Linked DNA regions of Homo sapiens: region 1 is linked to region 2. The links are contacts of gene promoters, found by promoter capture Hi-C in human tissues and cell types (Jung and others, 2019). All regions are on one chromosome and are shown on one strand. The core of a region is centred on a gene start or on the middle of the fragment in contact, and the rest is flanking DNA. Distances in the headings are between cores, read along the strand shown. Region 1 has its middle 42 kb from the start of FOXL1. Region 2 holds the start of MTHFSD (methenyltetrahydrofolate synthetase domain containing).

Evidence for each region. The method cuts DNA at HindIII sites, captures the fragments that hold promoters and counts their contacts. A contact is called where the count stands out against the background at its distance.
Region 1: a contact is called between a fragment that was not itself captured here and the fragment with the promoter of MTHFSD in region 2, in 2 of the 25 tissues and cell types used here (mesendoderm cells and thymus).

The regions. Positions count from the first base shown.
Region 1 is chr16:86,618,399-86,622,348 of GRCh38, reverse strand. No RefSeq gene overlaps it. Among named protein-coding and RNA genes, the nearest start is that of FOXL1, 42 kb to the right of the region's middle. RefSeq lists an enhancer at 207-728. The HindIII fragment of the contact is 6,319 bases long and covers 1-3,950 here.
Region 2 is chr16:86,553,371-86,557,126 of GRCh38, reverse strand. MTHFSD (methenyltetrahydrofolate synthetase domain containing) reads left to right here and starts at 1,892. Exons shown (of 8, transcript NM_001159377.2): 1 at 1,892-1,958; 2 at 2,376-2,482. The coding sequence starts at 1,943. It overlaps FLJ30679 (a long non-coding RNA gene), which reads right to left and starts at 1,807. Exons shown (of 1, transcript NR_026674.1): 1 at 1-1,807. RefSeq lists enhancers at 1,610-1,899, 1,940-1,989, 2,958-3,620, 3,621-3,756 and a silencer at 1,822-2,035. The HindIII fragment of the contact is 6,717 bases long and covers 1-3,756 here.

The sequences.
Region 1 (3,950 bases), core at 1,168-3,667, 65 kb before region 2:
GAGTAACATACAAATGTCAATCCCAGCACTAGCATGGTTGAAGGAGGAAGAACTGGGCCTGCTGGCACTGGGAGCTGGAGATGAGATGGAGAAAACGGAACCCTGGGATGGGCTGTGGGGCCTGGCGACGGGAGGAGCCTCAAGGCTGGGGGCGTTTGGTGATGTGGTGCTGCTCTGGAGTGCACTGCAGCAGGCAGCAGGTGGCCGTCAGGGGCCGGAGCTCCAGCAGGTGGGCAGGGCCCAGCCCGGCGGCAAGGGAGCAGAAGCCAGAGGTGGCGAGATTTGGACAAAGTTCCTGAGGCCCTTGGTGACAGAGGATTCAGTGACAAGAGAACGGAGCCCAGAAGAAGAGGGGAACATCCCACAGAGACCCCCTCCTGAGTAAATGAGAGAATCAGACCAGAGCACCGGTCCCAGCAGCAAGGCAGGAAGACACACACTCAAGCAGACCGTGCTGGGGTTTGGGTCACAGGGAAAAGGTTAACAGCCCTGTTGCTAGTCCATGCTTGCCGCAGAGAGGCTCTGAGATGATGGTGGACGCCAGCGCCAGTGGCCAGACCCTTTACAAACTCAAGGCCTGGTCTGTTCTGCATCGCGTGGATCCTGTGCCCTCCGTCTACACACCACATAGGGTCACCGTGCTCAGTGACTCCTCCCAGGCTCGGAGCTCCGTGGGGCAGGACCTGGTCTGTGTCCTCCGGCTGCAGATTAAGGGCTTCGCAGCTGGTTCTCAGGAAGGCTGTGAGGGGTGTGGGGCAGGGATGGAAGGAGGAAGAGGAAAAAGCAGAGAGAGATGGAAGAAGAAATAAAGAAGAGATGGAAGGGTAGGAGAAAGGGAAAGAGGAAGGAAGATGTCCAGTCCTTAAGACGGCACCAGCCATTGGTGCCACAATGACCTAGCAGCTCCCATCTGATGGGGGCTCCGAAGGGTGCACAGGCTGGCCCTTTAGGGAGCTGTAGGGGCAGAAGAGTGTGCACAGCATTCTAAGAGAGTAAAGAGAGGAGAAAAATCAATGGCAGGCCGGGTGCAGTGGCTCATGCCTATAATCCCAGCACTTTGGGAGCCTGAGGCAGGTGGATCACTTGAGGTCAGGAGCTCGAAACCAGCCTGCCCAACATGGTGAAACCCCATCTCTACTAAAAATACAAAAAGTAGCCAGGCATGGCTGCAGGCACTTGTAGTCCCAGCTACTCAGGAGGCTGAGGCAGGAGAATCGCTTGAACCCAGGAGGCGAATGTTGCAGTGAGCCAAGATTGCACCGTTGCACTCCAGTCTGGGCGACAAGAGCAAAACTCCGTCCAAAAAAAAAAAAAAAGTCAGCATCAGCTGCCCCATCTTTCAGCCTATCTGGGAGTGAGACCAGCTTGCTCTCGGTGGTTCCTTCACCCTCGAAACACCTCTTCCCCACTGTGTTCCTCACAGCTTTGGTGTTTTCTGATTACAAAAGTAGTACACATGCATTTCAGGGAATTCAGAAAGCCCAGAATACCAGAGAACAAAATAAAAGAGGTCTTTAGATCCCACCACACATAAAATGTTGATGTTTACACTTGCAGATTCTCTTTCTTAACAAATAGAAAATCACAAACATAAGTGTGAGTATGGATGTGTGTGTTCTTATAAGTAGAGAATGGATTTATAGAAATGCTCTTTTGGAACTTGTTTTTTCCCCACTTAACATGTCATCATAACTTTTTCATGGTATTAAAAACATACAGCAATATCACCCTCTTTCATGGCTCTGCTGTATTCCACTGTATGGATAACTCATCACTTATTTAACCAGCTGTATCCATTAGGAGTGTGTTTGGCTGAACATAATAGACAACCCAGCCACAATGGCTTTAAAAATCAGGTTTATCTTCTCACATGTGCCAAAGTCATGGCCAGTGGTTCAGCAGGTTAACAACAGAGTCCACGTCTCTGCTGCTTTCTTGGCCATTCCTCATGGCACAAGGTGACTGCTGCAGCTCCAGACATCACATCCACATCAAGATAAGAAGGATGGGGGTGATGTTTTATAAAGAACACAAAGCTTCCCAGAAGTTCCTCCAGAAGACTTCTGCCTTGTGTTATGAGCCAGCATCAGCTCATGCAGCCACTTGTGACTGCAAGTGGGGCTGGGGAGGCCCTTGTTTGACCTGCAGTCTTTATGGCAGGAAACTGAGAGGATGCAAGGAGCCTGGAGGAAGACGAGGGATGGTGTTGGGTGGCCAGCAAATGGTGTCTGCCACACCTGCCCTCTGTTGAGAGCAAGATTCTCCTTCAGTTAATGCCGCCCCTTTGGGGTGCAGCAGAACCCCAGGTGTCCCTGCTACATGCACCCAGGCTTGAGTCCTCCCCAGTGCTCCAGGGACCCACTGACACAGCTCCAGCTGCCCCTTGGCCAGTAGAACTTCTAGTCCAATGCCTGCTCCCTCGAGCTTCTATGGATTTGATGCAGGGTGGGCGAACCCCAGATTGGGGCTTAACCAGGGCTTTTGCTTCACCCAGGAAAGAATTCAAGGGTGGGCTGGTGGTGGAAGAAAACAGCTTGACTGAAGCGGCACCATTGCAGCTCAGGCAGCGCGACAGCTCCGTGGCTGCTCCCGCAGAGCTGGGCTAACCCTTAGGCAGTGTGCTGAGAGCAGCAGCTCCCGGCAGTCCGGCAGTCATATTGATACCTACTTTTAATTGCATGCAGATGCAGGGGCGGTTTATGCAGAAATTTCTAGGGAAAAGGTAGTAACATCTGGGTCGTCGGAGTCATTTCCGTGGAAAGGAGTGGTAACGCCCACGCCCACTGACTGGGCACACTGATGGGCGTGGCTTATGGAGAGCTGCTTCCACCCCACCCTGTTTTAGCCAGTCCTCAGTCTGGTTCAGTGTCCAAGCCCCGCCTCCACAGTCGAGTCCCACCTCCTACCTCCTACCTCAGATTCATACCTGAGCTTCAATAGGAGCCTCTGGGAGCCAGCGCCCTGCTCCAAGAGAACGGCGGGAATGGCGGGATTCAGGCATGGGGGCAGCTCCGTGAGGGAGGTATTTGGGGACAGGTAGAGTTTTCACATCACCTCACATCATTTAGGGAACCACGCACGCAGTTGCGCACAGAGGGCAAAGCCAAGTCAGAAGGATGTGGTGCTGGCAAGCAGACCACTTTATGTTGCAGACAGCAACCGTGATCGCTGACACTTAGGAAGGCTCCCCATACACCAGCGGCTGTGCTGAGCACTTCACATCTACTTTCACTTTCCTCTTCACATCTGCCAGGGAAGAGATCCCAAATGCTCCACAGCCACTATAGCACAGGCACCAACCAGCAAGGGTGGACCCGCCAGCGCTGTCCTGTCCTGCAGGGCCCCTTGGACACACCCTACTGAACCAAGCATGAACCTTTCATTTTTGAATCATGGGACGAGTCCCCAGCTGGAGCAGAGGCTGCCAAGATGGCAAGGGGAGGCTCTCAGACGGCTGGACAGGGTTTGCTTATCAAGCTTGGCAACGTTTTAAAACTCAGCCCAGTCTGCAACTGTATACAGGCCGAATCTCAGAGAAAGCTTTCAAAGGGGCATAGGCTCCACCTGAAGATGGTGTGTTAGTCTGATTTTTGCGGCAATCACGCCACATACCGTCCCGCCCTCATCACAGTGGCTTAACAAAAGGTATTGTATTTTGTGCTCACAATACACAAAAGGGCGGCTGCGGCCTGGCTGATCTCTACTGGGCTCAGTTGTGCCAGGTTGGATCCTGGGCTGTGGGTCAAAGTCAAGGTCAAGTTTGCTCCCTGAGGTTCAGGATCTCTTTCTGAAACCCAGGCTGAAGGGCAGTGCCACCCAGGGCATGTTGTTCTCGGGGCAGAGGCCAGAAGGACAGGTCCCCTAAAGGCTCAGCTGGGAAACATGTACACCACTTCTGTCCCAGTTCAAGGGATAGAAAGTCACTCCACCTGCAGGCAGTTGGGGTTGGG
Region 2 (3,756 bases), core at 643-3,142:
TCATAAAAGAGCCAGTTGATTTTTTCTAAGGGGTCTCTTATTACTACTATTTATTATTTTTATTTATTATTATGTTTTTCAAAGAGGAGTTCTGGCTGTGTCGCCCAAGTGGAGTACAGTGGTGCCATTATAGTTCACTGCAGCCTCAAACTCCTGGGCTCAAGTGATCCTCTGCCTCACCCCCTCAAGGAGCTGGGGGTAAATGCTCTGAGGCACTTCTAACTTGAAAACATGGAACTGAAGAGAATGCCCTTCCTAGCACCACCTGCTTTCTAAAATTGCCACTGGCAGATTGTCCCTGGCGTCTCGTTACCATCTGGGGGCCGTGCCAGGCTGACCATCGGAGAGACTTGGGCTCTGTTTTGAGCACAGCTGGGTAACAGAATCCTGCACACACTTCCACTACTGGCACCAAGTCTACTTGCATAAAACACTCTGCAGATCTACTGTGCTTCCATGAAAGGCGGAAAGGACATCCAACCTCTGTGAGAGATTTTATTTTATCACCTCCAAAATGATGTTTGCACTGCTTTTGCCAGCCTGGTGAAAGACAGGCCCGCCCACAAGCAGAACTGAGGCTCCTCGGTGTCTCTATGTATTAATGTTGCGGACACCACATAGGAAGAGAGAGTTGTGATGGGACCCACAGGAGTTGCAATTAAGCACGTTGTCAGGGCTACACGCTCTGCCCTTTCTCTGCTGGGAGACTCAGGCCAAGCTTCTTTAACATGTCTGAGCCTCTGTTGCCTCCTGCGTAGGAGGCGGGTCACATTTGCCTCTGAGGGTTTGCTGTGAAACATAGTTAGCTATGACTTTTAAGGCGCTAAGCTCAATGCCTGGCATATCGTAGCACTGTTAATTACCATTATTAATTATGTCCTAAGGAGGTCAAACGGCACATTATGAGTTACCAGCAGACATGAGTAAGTCGCTTGTACACGGAACACCATTTTCTGTATCTGTTAAGTAGGCGGGCATTCAAACTCTTTTGTCTGTTTCCCAAGTGTGTTGTGAGGATCTCATAAAGTTTTGGGCATGCAATTTCGAAAGGTGGCAGCCACGTTTTGAGTGCTTGTGATGTACCAGGCACGTGGCTACGGGGATGCCTTCATTCGCTCAGGGAGTGGTTCCTAGTGGCTGGTCCCTGACATCTGTGTGTGTGCTGGGTGGGGGTGTGGGATGTCTTCTTCCTAATAAGTGAATGAACTGCCAGGCTGAACGCCCTCGTTTTCTTCCCGCGGGGCTGGGGCCAGAGAGGGAATGGACGTGACGGTCTGTGCAGCCTGGTCTCCTCGAGCCGCTTCTCGACCCTTAGGTTAGCAAACATGAAAGACATAGACAAGCAGACGCAGGCTGCCACGTTCGTTCTTTCTCAGGGTATGCAGAGGTCAGGGTAAGAATCCACGGGTGTTTCTCAAAGGATGGCCTCTGGCCGTCCGCAGCGCAGTCGCCGGGGCTGGGCTGGCCTCGAATTTCCATCTGCCTGCCGCTTTAAAGAGCTGCCGGCTGAATCCGCTGCACACCCACGTGTGAGCACCTGAGAGTCTGCAGGATCTCAGAGGAGGGAACCGCGTCCTACATGAGGAGCAATCAAGGCCGGCTTTCCGGAGGAGGCGGCCTCTAGGACTGGAAGAGGAGGCGGGATGTGTTTCAACCGGCAATGGGTCCCGAGAGACCAGGGACTTGTTCACTTCAGTAACTCCAGGGCTTGGCAAAACGCCTGTCACGGGCGGCGCTCGACAATGACTAGCTGAAAGCAAGAGCGAAGGGCCTGGGAGCATCCCTGACTGTCCCCGGCGCGGATTTTACCCGCCCGAGCATGCGCGCCTGGGCCTCGCCCGCTCAGCCTCCGCCCCTCCTACCATCGCGCAGGCGCGGAGCGGGTGACGTCACTACGCGCCAGAACCTGCGCCGGGAAGCGTCGCACAGCGACTGCATCACCATGGAGCCGAGGGCAGGTGGGGGGCCTGGCGGGGCTCCGGGGCGGCTGGGAATGGGGAGGGACAGCCGGGACCGGTGAGGGTCGAGGCGGGGCCACCGGGGCTGGCAGAGGATGGGGCAGAATCACCGGAAGCGGCCGAGGAGGTCAGAGGGGGTCTGTGCTGGGTTCGGGTCGAACCAGCGGCTCTCTCGCCCGGAATCCCGAGAAAGATGTCAGGAAAAATAAAGATAACGAGAAGACGAGGCGGGAGGGACACCTGCCGTGCACGTGGGGGAGCCCGTGGGCCCCTTGAGGTCGGGGAAACTGAGGCTCAGGAACAGGATCGGAAGCCGGTTTGACCTACACGCGGGGGTCGCTTAACTACTGTTAAGCGGTTTCAGCATGGGCTCTGGAATTCCTTTGTATGTTATTAAGTGGGAATCTTTTGTTGCAGTAGGTGTCTCCAAACAGGACATACGTGAACAAATTTGGGGCTACATGGAATCACAAAATTTAGCTGACTTTCCCCGACCTGTTCATCACAGGATACCCAACTTTAAGGTACTGACATATTTCTGGAGTCCAGAAAAGGAAAACAAAATATTCTTAAATGAATAACACTAGTAATAAAATTCTCTTACTGCGTCATGGTGGATGAGAATGTGGCGAGCAGTGAGCAGTGGTGTGAAATCAAAGCCATTTGGCCAGGGCGTCCTTAGCATTTAGAGACGTCATTTACTCTTCACCTGGGGCCTCTTGCGTCTCTGTGCAGGGTGGTTTGGTTGTCTCTAGGTGAGGTTGTGTCCAGAATTGGTGGGTTCTTGGTCTCACTGACTTCAAGAATGAAGCCTCGCAGTGAGTGTTACAGTTTTTAAAGGCAGCGTGTCTGGAGTTTGTTCCTTCTGATGTTTGGATGTGTTCAGAGTTTCTTCCTTCTGGTGGGTTCACGGTCTTTGCTGGCTTCAGGAGTGAAGCTGCAGACCTTAGCAGAGAGTGTTGCAGCTCACAAAGGCAGGGTGGACTCAAAGAATGAGCAGCAGCAAGATTTATTGCAAAGAACAAACCTTCCACAATGTGGAAGGGGATTGGAGAGGGTTGTTGCTGCTGGTTCAGGCAGCCTGCTTTTAATCTCTTATCTGGCCCCACCCACATCCTGCTGATTGGTCCATTTTACAGAGAGCCGATTGGTCCGTTTTGACAGGATGCTGATTGGTGCGTTTACAATCCCTGAGCTAGACACAAAAGTTCTCCACCTCCCCACTAGATTAGCTACATACAGAGTGCCCATTGGTGCATTCACAAACTCTGAGCTAGACACAGGGTGCTGATTGGTGTGTTTACAATCCCTTAGCTAGACATAAAGATTCTCCAAGTCCCCACCAGCCTCAGGAGCCCAGCTGACTTCACCCAGCAGATCCCGCACTGGGGCTGCAGGTGGAGCTGCCTGCCAGTCCCGTGCAGTGCACCCGCACTCCTCAGCCGTTGGGCAGTGGATGGCACCAGGCACCGTGGAGCAGGAGCGTCGCTCCTCGGGGAGGCTCTAGCTGCACAGGAGCCCGCCGGTGGGGGTGGGGAGGCTCAGGCATGGCAGGCTGCAGGTCTTGGGGAGGCAGCTAAGGCCCGGCGAGAAATAGAGCACAGCAGCTGGTGGCCCAGGTGCTAAGCCCCTCACTGCCCAGGGCCAGCCGCTGTGAGTGCGGGGCTCCCCACGCCTACATGGAACTCGCGCTGGCCCACAAGCACCATGCACAGCAGCAGTTCCCGCCCGCGCCTCTCCCTCCACACCGCCCAGCAAGCTGAGGGAGCCGGCCTGGGCCAGTCCAGAAAGGGGCTCC